Linked DNA regions of Homo sapiens: all the other regions are linked to region 1. The links are contacts of gene promoters, found by promoter capture Hi-C in human tissues and cell types (Jung and others, 2019). All regions are on one chromosome and are shown on one strand. Each heading gives the region's core, a stretch centred on a gene start or on the middle of the fragment in contact. The rest is flanking DNA. Distances are from core to core; before and after follow the strand shown. Region 1 holds the start of LURAP1L (leucine rich adaptor protein 1 like). Region 2 has its middle 4.2 kb from the start of MPDZ. Region 3 has its middle 96 kb from the start of SNORD137. Region 4 overlaps MPDZ (multiple PDZ domain crumbs cell polarity complex component).

Region 1 (3,726 bases), core at 132-2,631:
AACAGCGCACAGCAGGCCTTAGATGGGTGCAATAACTGCAAACTCTCAACGGGCTGGTGCCTAAGAGGCTACGGGCTGGCAGCTAAATAGAGCCCGGCGCAGTGAGTCGCGTTGTCCGAAAGTACACAGAGTGGAGCCAGCCGACTGTGCTGTCTTTGCAAACCGTGACCGAGCAAAGTCCGCGGTAAACAAGCCTCGCAGCAGCTGCCTCCGGATGAGCGCCCCCTGCTCATTCCTCCACCCAGCATTTCCCACGCGCCCAGCGCTCCGCTCTGCAGCCCCTGCCGTCCTCTCTCCCAGCCCCATTCTCAGATCGCCCCATCTTTTGGCCCAGCCCAGGTCCCAGCCCCCGCGGCTGGCGCACCACACTCACCATCTCTTGCCTGAGGAGGTGAAGCTTGGTTTCTAGCCTCTCCAGGGCGCTAGAGTGGCTACCTCGTGGGGAGCCAGAGGTTGGGGAGGACGAAGAGGAGGACGACAAGGAGGGAGGGAAGCTGCAGTAGCTGCTGCTGCTACTGCAGCCGCCGCCGCCGCCGCCACCACCACCGCTCCCCCCGCAGGGGTCCCTGTCCCTTTCCCTGGGAACCGGCTCCTCCCCACGGAGAGAGCGCACTAGACTCTCGGGTACTTTGCGCCCCAGCTTCAGCTCGATGTCTCTGAGGTCTGGCAGCGGGCTGTCTTCCATGACTTTTCCGGAACGGCGATAATAGTAATAAAACGCAGCAGATGAAAGGCAGCCACGGCTTCGAAGGCTGCTGCGAAATCAGCAGACCTCTCCGGGGGCCAGGGTCTCTATCCTCCGCCGCTCCGGTGTACCGTCCTTTCCATAACCGCCTATGCGGTATCAGCCCTGAAATCCGCACAGGACGCGGGGGGTCGCAGCTGCAGTTCCCAGTCCGCTGCGACTCCTCCGACACTAAGATGATCAAGATCTCCTCATTCTCTCTCTTTTTGGCCACCTCACTGCAAAGTTGAGTTCACTGATATTGCAGACAGAGGGGGAATAAAGAGGGGGAAGTAGTGAAAGAAAAGAGAGGGAAATTAAATCTGTTTTAGCTTTACCAAGGGAAAATTTTCACATTATAAAACCGTCCGTTCACATCCCTGCGCCGCTCACTGACTGCCCATCTGGTACTACGCGACACAAAATAATGATGCAGCCAGAAACGATGTCCTGGGTCGTTTCATTTTCCAGCCATATGCCTCCAAGCTTTCGGGATATCCTGGGTTGTCAGAAATAATCTCTGGTCAGTGAAAGAGGAGTTCGGTCGTGTGCATGGACCCATAAAAAAGAGCTAGTTAGCTTAGCAGGAGTTTAACGGCTTCCTTGATGCAGCAAAAATGTCCTTCTTCCCATTTAGGCTGTTTGATCCAAGTCATTGTGTTCCTCTGAGCCTCGGAAACTTTAAACTCCGCTGGCAGGTGGACCAAACCAGGACCAACCCTTCTACCGTATATCACAGACAAGAAGAGCAACCGGAATTTTCCCAACCCTGTCGCTAGTAGCAGAGTTTCAAAGCCCTGCTTTAGTTAGGAATACCAGTTGATTTTTCAGTTTTCCTGACTAGCTACAACCTTTAAAACAGGTTTTAAAATGAGAGATAGAGGAATGACTTTATATTTGGTGTCTTCGTTTCCCATCTCTCTACCTTCCTCAAAGGAAAAACAAACAGAAAACCTCTCTTTAGAAGACTTTCCTAATAATTTTATTCTAATAAAAAGAGTGAAACAATTTCATCAAAAGTTCAATGGAAATGTACAATCAAAATTAATTATCCTACCAACTGTTACAGTATGCAAACAAAAGTGAAAAATTAAATAGCCAGAATAACTTACATGACTGCTGAGATAGCAGTGAAATTTTAAGAACAAGCAATTGCTGAGATACTTACTTTTATTTTAATTATGGAAGAAAAAATATTGGGAATAACTATTTAAAATGTTGTCTTCTTTGATAATTTATCTATAAATTAATTTATAGATTTTTTCAACTATACAAATTGTACAATTAATTGTATAGTTGAACAATTGTACAATTTATTAATTTGTACAATTGTACAATTCATTAATCTGAAATACTTCTACCAAGTAAGTTATTATGAGCTACATGGATTACAGATCTGAATCAGCATTGAGTTTGTGTCAAAAATGTTTAAGTAGAGGATACTAATTTCAATCCAGTAAACTACAATTTTTGATTTCCATTGAAATATTTCAAAGTATGTGCCCCTCTATTTCTGTGACATATAAGTATTTGTGTTCCTGGTCACTCCGAGGCTCCATTTCCAGAGACATCATTCAGGTTTTACACTTGTAGGAACATAGGTATATACATCTCAGAGTTTGTTTTTATCATATCTGACTCTAGGAAACCTTATACGTAGAGGAAACATACGCATTCTAAATGAAATATTTCATGTCAGGGAAAAAATGCTGAACTTTCTATCAACATGCCAGAAATTTGCATGCTATTTCTCCCTTTTAAAAAGAAATGAAGAAAATAGTTATAAGTTAGATGACCCATTTCAAAGTTAGAACTACCACTTACAGAATCAAGGGAAAACAAGACCAAATCCCAGCTAACTGATAAAACTACATGCTTGGTCCTAAATTTGGAAAAACACAAGCTCGTTGCATAAGAATTGCACTGTGGCATGTAATTATGAAAGGCTTGTGTTTCAGTCAAGAACAGTTTATTATTACAAAACCCTTACAAAGTTCAGCATAAGGCTGGCTAAGTGCAGTTTATAGATGAAATATCTAGCTAGAAATTGGTCAGTAAAAAACAAATGTCAAATTATCGTGTGTCAATATAGAAAAATGGGACACCTCTTCTGCTATGAATCACAGACTGCAAAATCAGTATTTGAGGCTGAGGATAATTTAATATATACGTATATGTATGTATATATGTATATAGTTTTTTAAAGAAGTCTGCAGGAGAAACTCCTCTGAGAGTAAAAGTGTGATGTATATGCAAAGTAACTTTGTTCCAGTGAAATATAAAAAAATGTAAACTTTTGAAGGAAAGCTTAGTATGTCAAGCTTTAAATTTTTTTTCGGTTAAATGCCTATTGACATTTTAGTTTAAAATGAAGACATTTTGAATGATGCTTTAGCTAGTTTTCAGAATATATTAAAATCATTGAATGTTTATGGATCTATAATAGATTGTTGTTAATGCTACCATAACTGCTTTATGTGGTTTAATCTGAGGACATTTCTTACTCAAACTATTTGAAAACTTTTTTTTTTTACTTTGGTTCTTGAGCATGTGTTTTGTTTGTTTGTTTTCAAGATTCTCAAGAAACTGAGTCAGCCTGGGCAATATAGCGAGACCCCACCTCTTCAAAAAATTTAAAAATTAGCCAAGCATGGTGGCATGCACTTGTAGTCTTAGCTAAGGGGTTAGGGGTGAGGGAGTGAGGCCAGAAGATTGCTTGAGTCCAGGGGTTCGGGGTTGCAGTAAGCTATTATCAAGCCACTGCCCTTTAGTCTTTGAGACAGAGTGAGAAACTGCCTCAAAAAACAAAAACAAAAATAAAAACAATAAACATACAAAAATGCCCACAAACAACAAGGACAAAAATGTGTGAGATGTTTTACCAATTGCTCTTAGCCTGAGAAGCTAATTACATCTTGAGTTGGGGAATCAGTTGAGAAGACTTTGCAGTAATGAGTCCAGGATGGGGGTTGGGGGTAGCAGTGAATTCAGCAACAACTGGG
Region 2 (3,483 bases), core at 263-2,762, 510 kb before region 1:
TGGAACTGAGATGGTTATCTAGTGATCAGCTTGGCCATAAGCTGACACATGAAGAATCAGAAGTTCTTTCTGATTATTGCAGAAGAATCAGAGAGAGCTGGGGCCTGCACCCTCACTGAACTAGACCTAATCACTGCATTCACTCTGTACCTTTCCTATTACATATGCCAACATCTTTTTAATTTTATAAGCCAGTTTGAGTTGGGCTTCCTATTACAGACTCAGAGACATACAGAGAAAGCAATACACAGAAGCTCAGAGTGAGCAGAATTCCTGAGGAACGAAGAAGCAGAGTGTAGGCAGCATGGAGTGCCTATTACCTGCCAGGCACTGTGCTGGCACTGGGGAAAGGACAGGACATTAGACAGACAAAATCTCTGCTCTCATTGAGCTTACATTCTAGCTGGATGGTGGTAGGAGACAGGAGGGAGACTGCAACAATTTTAAATAGTGATAAATGCTGCAGAGATAACAATACAGTGCAATGTGAGGTGAGAAGGGGCTACTAACTTACTGGTGAGCCAAAGACGTCTTCTCTACAGAGGTGTCATCTGACCAGTGACTTGAATGAGGAGAAGATGCTAGCTGTCTGAAGCTCTGAAGCAAAGGCTTTCTAGGTAGCGATACAGCAGCACGTTCCTGGAAGACAAAAAACAGATGGAGTGGAAACTGCCTAAAAACTTTAAAGTGCATAGAAATCACCTGGGGGTCTGGTTAAATTGAAGATTTTGATTCAGTAGGTCGAGGTGATGCCGAAATTCTGCATTTTAAACAAGCATCCGCGTGATGCATTGTTTCTGTATGCATTACACCTGGAATAATGCTCCCCACAGTGTGGTCTGCAGCCTGGTCCACACACACACAAATTAAAACTTAACCTTTAAAAATCTTTATAGCAATTGAACACTGACACAACATCCAAGCATGTCATTTTTCTAGTAATTTATTTTTAGTGCATTGGTCAGTGACACATTGGAAGTTAAAAAACAAATCACCTGACCCTTTGCAGTTAGTTTGAGAAGCAGTGTCCTAGGTCTATGATACTACAGCAGAGGAGGGAGCTATCCTATCCACCAAAACTGCAGAGAAGCTTGGTAACATTGAAATCCTAGGTACAATGGAGAGTGGAAGTAAAATGTCAGGAGCGAAAGCTGGGTATTGGAACAACCGACATTATCACCACCATCACAGGCATGCACAGATACACAGACATAAACACCCACATGCACACTCTAGACACACACGCATGCACACATAGCTTCCATATGTAAGTCCTAGCAGCCAGGCATCTATTTCTCAGGCAAACATCCAGAAATGTCCTCTCAAAAGACATCAGATGGCTATGGAGTAAAGACTTCTTTATTCTGGAATGGAGGAGCCCCTGAGTGTAATGCTTTCTCAGAAGTGAAGTACAAGTCAACAAAGCCTTGCGGTATGCACAGAGCCCCACACTGCTCACTGCCTCATTATTAAATATAAACAGACCATCCACGATTACCAGACTTTCAAGGACCCAATATAAACAAACATTAGAGGAAGAAGAAAAGCTAGATACATAGGGACAGAGGTATACTGGATTATAATTATGGTAGAATCACACAGACTGTAAGAAAATCTCATCTCTAGAGCTGCATCCTCTGAAATGACCTTTTGTTTCTGTGTGTTTGTGTTGTGACCAGAAAGATGTCACATTTTCTGTGAGACCTGGCTGTTCACCAGTGGAAACTCATGTTTTCCTTATATTCCTAGTTATCCTTTAATAAGCTCCGACTGAGGTAATCTCAGTGTGTTCCTTGAAACTTAAAAGTACCTGTCTAGCTCACTGTGAATGGCTTAATATGTGTATTTCATCAGTTTGAATGCTTTTAGTTACAAACAACAGAAAACTCAATTCAAACTAGTTTAAGAACTAAAAAAAATTTATTGGCTCATACAAGTGGAAAGACAAGAGGTGGAGTGGGCTTCAGGTAAGACATAATCCACTGACTCAGTGGTGTTTTCAATAGCTCAATTTTTTCCCCTCTGTTCTTTCTGCCATCATGAAGGGGGAGTATTACCTAAAAGATACTATGCAACTTGAACAAATTCTTTTCACTATTGTTATTGTTTTTCTTGATTTTCTTTTTGGATAACTCACTTATGCCCTCAGAGTATGCATAACAGGGAAGATATTTTGTAAGATAGTTCAAAATGTCATTCTAGCTGGCATAAACTTGAGGCACAGATTCTGGAACAGTTTGGATGTGTTTCTTCCTAAAATTAACCTGGCCCCAATGCTTTCTCCTGGAATTTCCTTATAGAGTTAGAATTTTGTGGGTACAAATGCAAATGAATTCAAGGTCAGAAGGTCATGACCTCCCAATGCCCTTTCTTTCATGCTTAGAGAGATGAGGCCTAATCAGACACACTGGAGATTTCAGAGCCTTTATCTCTCTATAAACAGTTTGTTATATGAAGAGAGACAGATTACTCTGTATGTTCTCAAAAGAGAAATAATTTTTACATTTTTCTCATTCCTGGGATTCTCTCTTAGTCATTCTCTCCCCCTAATGGCTTTCTCCTAGACACATATATATCCATTATCCTAATGTTCTTCTCTTTCTTCTTTATCTTCTTTTTTCAACCTTGACTTCTTTTCAATGGAGAGAAAAAATTAAGGATTATTTAAAATGCTTTTTAACATTGAACAAACTGAAAAAAAATTTATCTGAACTCTTCTTTTAATTGAGACATCTGAGGCAAATTGAAACCATAAAGTCAGTCAGCCAGTAGACAACATAAAAAATCTACAAACTATAATAAACTAAAACTGCACAGTTGTTATATATTAGATATCCCTTAGGTAGAGGGACTGGCAAGCATGCCATCTAGTTTGCATTTAAATGCTGCATTATTAATAAGAGTCACTGCTGGCTAAAGGTGATAAAAATAGCCCATCACCCCACTATTAGGATTACCCCAAATCAGTCCTTGGGAAAGGATTTGGTTCATAGAGTTCTAACCCTGCAGTTCTGTAGTAACATCTCCCAGCATGGGGGTCTCACCTACGTCTTGGCTATCTGCTGTTAAAAAGCAGAATGAAGACTGTGTGCTCAGCAGGCAACTAAAAGAATCCTCTGTTATTTTGGTGGATCAAAAGTTTAATTTCCAGGATCTGTCTTTTCAGCAGCCGTTAAAGGTTTTGAGTAGATAACCCGGGCCTTTCACTAGTTTTAGAGTTGGAGAGGAGCCACAAATGTAAAATAATATCATATACATAGTTTATATTTGTACTGTTCAATTATGATGAACAATAAATAATAAACCAACAATAATAATTTAAACCAATCTCAGAAGTTTCCAGGACTTTTTCCCTTATAAAAGTCCTCTGAATATGACTCAAATTTGAGAAAAACAAATTATTGTGGAGAATGCCTCACTGAGGATATAGGTGGAATGACCCCAGAGCCTGTATTAACATGAAATAGAAAGCATTATTAATCT
Region 3 (3,577 bases), core at 691-3,190, 290 kb before region 1:
GGTAATTCCTAATGAGTGAAAGTGTCAATAGTGTACCTTGGTCTCTGTAGTTTTGTAGAGAACTCAAAACTATTGACATACATCACAGCCACAAGAATCCAGTGGGTTTCAACTCTGTTAGGGACCTTTTTCTGGATCCTAAGGAACACAACATATGATACAGGCCTTCATGGCTGAATGCCTTGTCTTTTTTCAAAAAAGAACATTTTTCTTCCCGGTGATATTCAGTCTACTATTCCTGAGCAAAGACAGCTAAGTTACTTAGACACAAGCTGCATCCTAAACTCTGTCCTAGCTTGCATTTCATACAGCCACAGGCGTGCACTGGGTAACACCCTTTGTTGGATTAATCCATTTCTAAATCATTTGTCTGAAGTCTTTTTCATGAAGACTTAAAAGACACTCTAGGGCAACTTAAAGTGTAGAAGGTGTGGCAGTGTGAAAGCAGAATCTATGAAAAAGGGAAGTTTTTGTGAATGACGGATATGTAAGTTTGGCCTTCAGGGCATACTAAAGCAGGGGGTGGATCATCCCAAAATTGTTTCATACATGTAATTAATTTTCCTATAGTTGCAGAACGTCATTTATATTCTGTAAGGAAATAATGTTAGCATGCATATTATAAATTTAAATTTAACCTGGAAACAGTTTTATTTCACCAGATGTAAAATGCCTTATAAACAAACAGGTATTACTTCCCTTTTATTTACTTCCACTATTATTCCCCATTTTTCTTCCCTTGACATCTTATCTCCTCTGTCAAAGTCCCTGATTTTTTTTTTTTTTTTTTTTTTTTTTTTGAGATGGAGTCTCGCTCTGTCACCCAGGCTGGAGTGCAGTGGCCCGATCTCGGCTCACTGCAAGCTCCGCCTCTCGGGTTCACTTCTCCTGCCCCAGCCTCCCGAATAGCTGGGACTACAGGCGCCTGCCACCACGCCCAGCTAATTTTTTTGTATTTTTAGTAGAGGTGGGTTTTCACCATGTTAGCCAGGATGGTCTTGATCTCCTGACCTTGTGATCTGCCCACCTCGGCCTCCCAAAGTGCTGGGATTACAGGCGTGAGCCACCGCACCCGGCCGCATTAATATTGTTCATTATGTATTTTTTTATAATTAATAAATCTGATTGATGCATTATTATTAACTGAAGTCCATAGTTTACATGCAGATTCACTCTTTATGTTGGACAGTTCTATGGGTTTTGACAAACGTATAATGCATTTACCCACGTTATAGCATCATAAATAGCAGTTTCATCGCCTTAGAAATATCCCATGCTTTCTCTATTCATCTCTTCCCCTTCTGGTAACCATGATCCTTCTGCTGTTTCTGTAGCTTTTTGACTTTTCTAGAATGTCATATAATTAGAATCATGTCATGTGACTTTTTAAGATTGGCTTCTTTCATTTGACAATAGGCATTTAAGGTTTCTCTAGGTTTTCGGTGGCATGATAGCTCAGTTAAGATGTTCCATAGCTTGTCGATTTATTTATCTGTTGAGGGATGTCTTGGTTGCTTTCAGTTTTTGGCAATTATGAATAAAGCTTCTAAATGCTCACATGTAGGCTTTTGTGTGTGGGTAAGTTTTCAAACTAATTGAGTAAATACCTAGAAGTGTGAATGCTGGATCATGCGGCAAGAGTAAGTTCAGTTTTATAAGAAACTAACTGCCTAACTTTCTTCCAAGTGCTGTTACCATTTTGCATTCCCACCAGCAACAGATGAGTTTCTGTTACTCGCCATCCCTGCCAACATTTAGTGTTGTCAGTGTTTGAGATTTTAGCTATTCTAATAGGTTTGTGGTGGCATCTCATTGTTTTTTTGTTTTTATTTAAAAAAAACAGACTCTTGCTCTGTCTCCCAGGCTGGATTGCAGTGGTACAAGCATGGCTCACTGCAGCCTCGACCTCCTGGATTCAAGCAATCCTTCTACCTCAGACTCCTGAGTATCTGGGACCACAGTCATAAGCTACCATACCTGGCTAGTTTTTAAAATTTTGTAGAGATAGGGGTCTCGCCATGCTGCCCAGGCTGATCTTGAACTCCTGGGCTCAAGTGATCCTCCCACCTTAGCTTCCTGAAGTGCTGGGATTATAGGTATGAGCCACCATGCCTGGCTCTCTCATTGTTGTTTTAATTTACAATTTTCCCAATGATGTGATGTTGAAAGTATTTTCATGTGCTTGTTTGATGTATGTACATCTTCTTTGATGAGATGTCTGTTCAGATCTTTTGCTTATTTTCAAGTTTCTCCCAGTCTGTGTCTTGATTTTTCTCAAGATGTTTTTCTTGACAGTGTCTTTCACAGAGCAGAAGTTATTTTTTTGATAGTCTATCTTATCATTTTTTCTTGCATTTTTTTTATTTTTTTGGTGTTGTATCTAAAAGCTTATTGCCAAACCCAATGTTTCCTATATTTTCTCCCATATTATTTCTTAGAAGTTTTATTGTTTTGCATTTTGTATTTAGGATTATAATTCATTTTGAGTTTTTTTTGTGAAAGGTGTAAGGTCTGTGTCTAGATCTATATTTTTACACATGAATGCCCAACTGTTCCAGCCCCACTTGTTGAAAAGAAAAACCTTTCTCTATTAAATTTTCTTTGTTTCTTTGTCAAAGATCAATGGACTATATGTGAGTGGGTGTGATTTTTTTCTATATTTAAAAAGTAAGATTTTTTTAAATAAAATGAAATATAAATAAAAATACAAATTATCTGTAAAGAGGGAGCTTCCACGTATTAGATGATGGAATCAAGTTCATTTTATTTTCCTCCCTTGATTTAGAAATCACCCCAAAGGAACAAGTATAATGGCATACAGACACAGATTTTATCTCTGATGACAGTAGGAAGGTTTTTTTGTGTGTGTGTGTGTGTGTGTGTGTGTGTTTTTTTTTAAATCTTAAATCACAGTATCTAAGAAGGATTGCCAGATGCAGTGCTGGTTAAATAAGGATGCCAAGGGAAACCTAGATTTTCTATGTGGGGCTGTGAAACTAAACAGCTGGAATTCTCCAAAATTGACATACCTCCTAGGAGCAATGCCTTCTTTTGAACAACAGAAGCGGGTAATTGGACTAGTGACAGATCTTCCCTGAAAGTTATTTTATACCATAAAGAAGCACACACGCACTCACACACACGCTCAGCCCTGTGCCATAAAGTATCTATGCCATAAAGCTTTTAACTTTAGTATAAAACAGAAAAAAAATTCTCCTTAGAATACTTGTCTCCAATGCATGAACTTTATTTAATTAACTAGTAGAGGATAAACCTGCTTCACTCAAAGATTATCTATCTATCTATCTATCTATCTATCTATCTATCTATCTACCTATCTATACACACACATATATATATACTCCCATCTCTCCGGCAGTTATTACCCAGGATAACTGATGCAAATTATGTAATATATAAACCATATATACATATATATAAAGTTATCTTTGAGTGAAGCAGAAGCAGGTTTATCCTCTACTAGTTAACTAAAGTTTATTATATATTATATATAAGGTTTATATATATATTATATATATTTAATTAGAGATATTTAAAAAGTCAGAAAAGGAACAGA
Region 4 (3,279 bases), core at 22-2,521, 360 kb before region 1:
CTTCTCCCAGTGACCTATTTCCAGGGCTTGAGTTTTGAGACTAAGTGGGAAATATGACAGTAAGGAACTTCCCAGGATGGTCTTGCAGGTCGCAAGTTTTTCCACAGAGCCCTCGTTTTGTGCAGAGCATGCTGGGAGCCCAGTGCCTGCCAGGAAATTTGTTGTCTACTCTCCTGCAGTTGGTCCAAGTGGTGCCTCTTTATCAGCAGTTCATGGATGTCAGACTTCATTTGCATTATTTTAATGCTGGCTTTAAACATGAGCTATTCTTTATTCACCATGAAAAGTCAGTTTCATGTTTTGGGGAGGAAAATATATAACATTTAATATAAAATATATTTTAAAGGAAGAAAAAATGTGCTTTTCATTAATGAGGAAGGATGATAAAACTTTATGATACTAAGATTTCAGGCCCAACTAATGATATTTATTTCTCACAGATCAATGGTCAGATTTTATATGGAAGAAGTCATCAGAATGCCTCATCAATCATTAAATGTGCCCCTTCTAAAGTGAAAATAATTTTTATCAGGTGATCATTTTCTTTTGCTAGTTTACCAAATACTTTTTGTTAGCATTTCTTCTCTGAGTTCTTTTGAATGAAAAGAAAACATTTGTAGCCGGGCATGCTGGCTCATGCCTGTAATCCCAGCACTTTGGGAGGCTGAGGCGGGCGGATCATGAGGTCAGGAGATCGGGACCATCCTGGCTTACATGGTGAAATCCCGTCTCTACTAAAAAAAAATTAGCCGGGCGTGGTGGCACGCACCTGTAGTCCCAGCTACTAGGGAGGCTGAAGCAGGAGAATCACTTGAACCTGGGAGGCGGAGGTTGCAGTGAGCTGAGACTGTGCCACTACACTCCAGCTCGGGCAACAGAAAGAGACTCTGTCTCAAAAAAAAAAAAAAAAAAAAAAAAGAAAACGTTTGTAAATTTGTAAGTGTCACAGTTCCAGGTTTTGGGGGTTAAATAATTTTCTCTAATAACCTTCTGACTCTTGAAGTAAGAGAATGAAAATAATACCATGATGTTATAATAGGTTGTTGTTTTTTTGCTTTTAGAAATAAAGATGCAGTGAATCAGATGGCCGTATGTCCTGGAAATGCAGTAGAACCTTTGCCTTCTAACTCAGAAAATCTTCAAAATAAGGAGGTATATGTAACTTATGTTTGTTTCTCTGGGAAGACTTGATTGATGTGAGCCTTATTAATTCAATCAACAATTACATAACACTTAGAGAGGGATATTAGAGGTAGATAAGTTATAGCCTTGGCCTTCAAGGAGTGTACATCCTAGTATAAGAAGACACTCATGGAAATAAGCATACCACTTATGTGAAGAGTACTTGTAGTCTGCCTAGGGAATAGTGAGGGTAGGAAAAGAGTTATCAGTTCTGCCTCTGAAAAGAAATTGAGGATAAAACTTTATATGGAAGGTTACATATGAAGTGTATGTTGGAAGATTTGGGGGGCAAAAATGTTGCAAGCGGAGGGCATGGAGTGAGGAATGGCATGGAGACTTTGGCCAATGCAGGAAGCTAAATTGTAGAGCATCACTGAGCAATGAGGGGCAGGGAATGGAAGCTGGTGGGGAAAGGGTCAATGTTAAAGGGGACAGGGTCAGATCATGGGATACATTGATAGGCCAACATGTGCCAGCTTTGTCTTTGAGGCAGTGTGGAGCTCAAAGAATGAGAAATGTTTAGTTAAAAATTTCTCTGGCAGTACTGTAGAGAAAAATCAGAGGTAGCAGGGGAGAGAGGTTAGAGGAAGTAAGATAATTATTGGAATAATTCAGGAAACAGTTAACAAGGACCTGAACTAAAGCTGGAAGAGGGAATGGTTACATCAGATGTTTAAGACCCAAATTGATAATACTTCATCCCCAACTAAATGTACTCACTGAGGAAAAATGAGTGGTTGAAGATGTGTTTATCCAACAAATATTTTCTGAGTACTCTGCCTTATACCAGATACTGCTCTTTGGACTGGAGAATAAAACAGGTAGGATATACAAGGTTTTCAGATATCTGACTTAGTGACATGAGGGATGGCTGTCTTTTACTGAATAGAAAATACAGAAAGATATTTGCAAAAATATGGTACATTCTATTTGGGGCAGGTTAAGAACGAAGTGCCTGTTGGATAGCCTGGTAAAAATGTACATTGGGACATTTGGTCTCCAGTTTAGAGATGATTTCCTGTATATGCAGATTTGGCATTTCTTAGCCATGGAGGCTGAGGTGCTTGCTACAGAGAGCATTTAGAGAGAAAGAGGGCCAAGGGCAGAATCATGTGGTAGCAACAGTAAGGAGGAAGGCTAACCAAGAGATCAGAGACTATGAAGAACCAGGAGGGCATGTGGCAGAGCAGCGGAGAAGAGTGTCCTTCAAGGGTACACTCCACAGCTCTACATGCTGCCATGTAGCAAGAATCCAGTGAGAAGATGAGTAGAAAGAGTCCCTTGGGTGTGGTAACTAGGAGACTGTTAGTGGTTTTTGAGAAAGCAAATGATGGACAAGAAGTCAAGGAGAGAGAGAGGCAGTGGCTAGAGGGTGACAGAGAATTGGGAGAGTGGTTTTGTTTTGATTTAGGAAAGCTTTGGATACATGTGTATGATGAATAAAAGGAGTTAGTAGAGAATGAAAAGCTTAAAATTAGAGGAACTTTGGTGATTATCAGTGGGGGTACCTGTAGGAAGAGAAACATTCTTTCCTAAATGAATATATAAACATAGAGCTTATGTATACATAAGATAGATGTACAAATCATTGTCTCATTCCGGCTGCTCCTAACGTTCCACTAAGCCACGTGGTTATTTAAGATAATTAGGTTATAAGGTAATATATTTTCTTTTCATATTAGTTGTACTAAATATGTCTCTTAAGGAAATGGAGTATTTTAATAACGTTCATTAAAGTTTTCAATTCACTTGATAAATAACACAGTAAAGAATAATGAATGGTGTTTCTGCTGATGCTCTGTCACTGAGTTTCACCATTTGTTAGCTGGGCTACCATCGGTTTTCATTATACAGTAAACCCAGGCAGTCTTCAAGCCACTTGGTCTATCTGTGCTCTCAACTGATTGCTGTCCAGTTACACCTCGTAAGTATTTTGAAGAGAATGTAATGTTCATAAATTCCATAGAATGTTAAAATAGCAAAAATGTATTATAATAAATAAATGTATTAAAATAGCAATAGTGTATTAAAATAAATAAATGTAAAATAATTTTATATAATGTATAAAATAATTTTGAATAAGTGGCCTTTATATTT

The links. Contacts are between HindIII fragments. The study calls those that stand out against the background at their distance.
Region 2: a fragment that was not itself captured here is called in contact with the fragment with the promoter of LURAP1L in region 1 in 1 of the 25 tissues and cell types used here (dorsolateral prefrontal cortex).
Region 3: a fragment that was not itself captured here is called in contact with the fragment with the promoter of LURAP1L in region 1 in 3 of the 25 tissues and cell types used here (dorsolateral prefrontal cortex, hippocampus and mesenchymal stem cells).
Region 4: a fragment that was not itself captured here is called in contact with the fragment with the promoter of LURAP1L in region 1 in 1 of the 25 tissues and cell types used here (hippocampus).

Annotation. Positions count from the first base shown.
Region 1 is chr9:12,772,675-12,776,400 of GRCh38, reverse strand. It overlaps LURAP1L (leucine rich adaptor protein 1 like), which reads right to left and starts at 1,381. Exons shown (of 2, transcript NM_203403.2): 1 at 374-1,381. The coding sequence starts at 685. All of the region lies in intron 2 of LURAP1L-AS1 (LURAP1L antisense RNA 1), which reads left to right. The HindIII fragment of the contact is 5,707 bases long and covers 805-3,726 here.
Region 2 is chr9:13,282,161-13,285,643 of GRCh38, reverse strand. No RefSeq gene overlaps it. Among named protein-coding and RNA genes, the nearest start is that of MPDZ, 4.2 kb to the right of the region's middle. The HindIII fragment of the contact is 5,710 bases long and covers 1-3,483 here.
Region 3 is chr9:13,066,446-13,070,022 of GRCh38, reverse strand. No RefSeq gene overlaps it. Among named protein-coding and RNA genes, the nearest start is that of SNORD137, 96 kb to the right of the region's middle. The HindIII fragment of the contact is 4,557 bases long and covers 1-3,577 here.
Region 4 is chr9:13,133,965-13,137,243 of GRCh38, reverse strand. It overlaps MPDZ (multiple PDZ domain crumbs cell polarity complex component), which reads left to right. Exons shown (of 47, transcript NM_001378778.1): 30 at 441-532; 31 at 1,062-1,152. Among named protein-coding and RNA genes, the nearest start is that of MPDZ, 140 kb to the left of the region's middle. The HindIII fragment of the contact is 5,271 bases long and covers 1-3,279 here.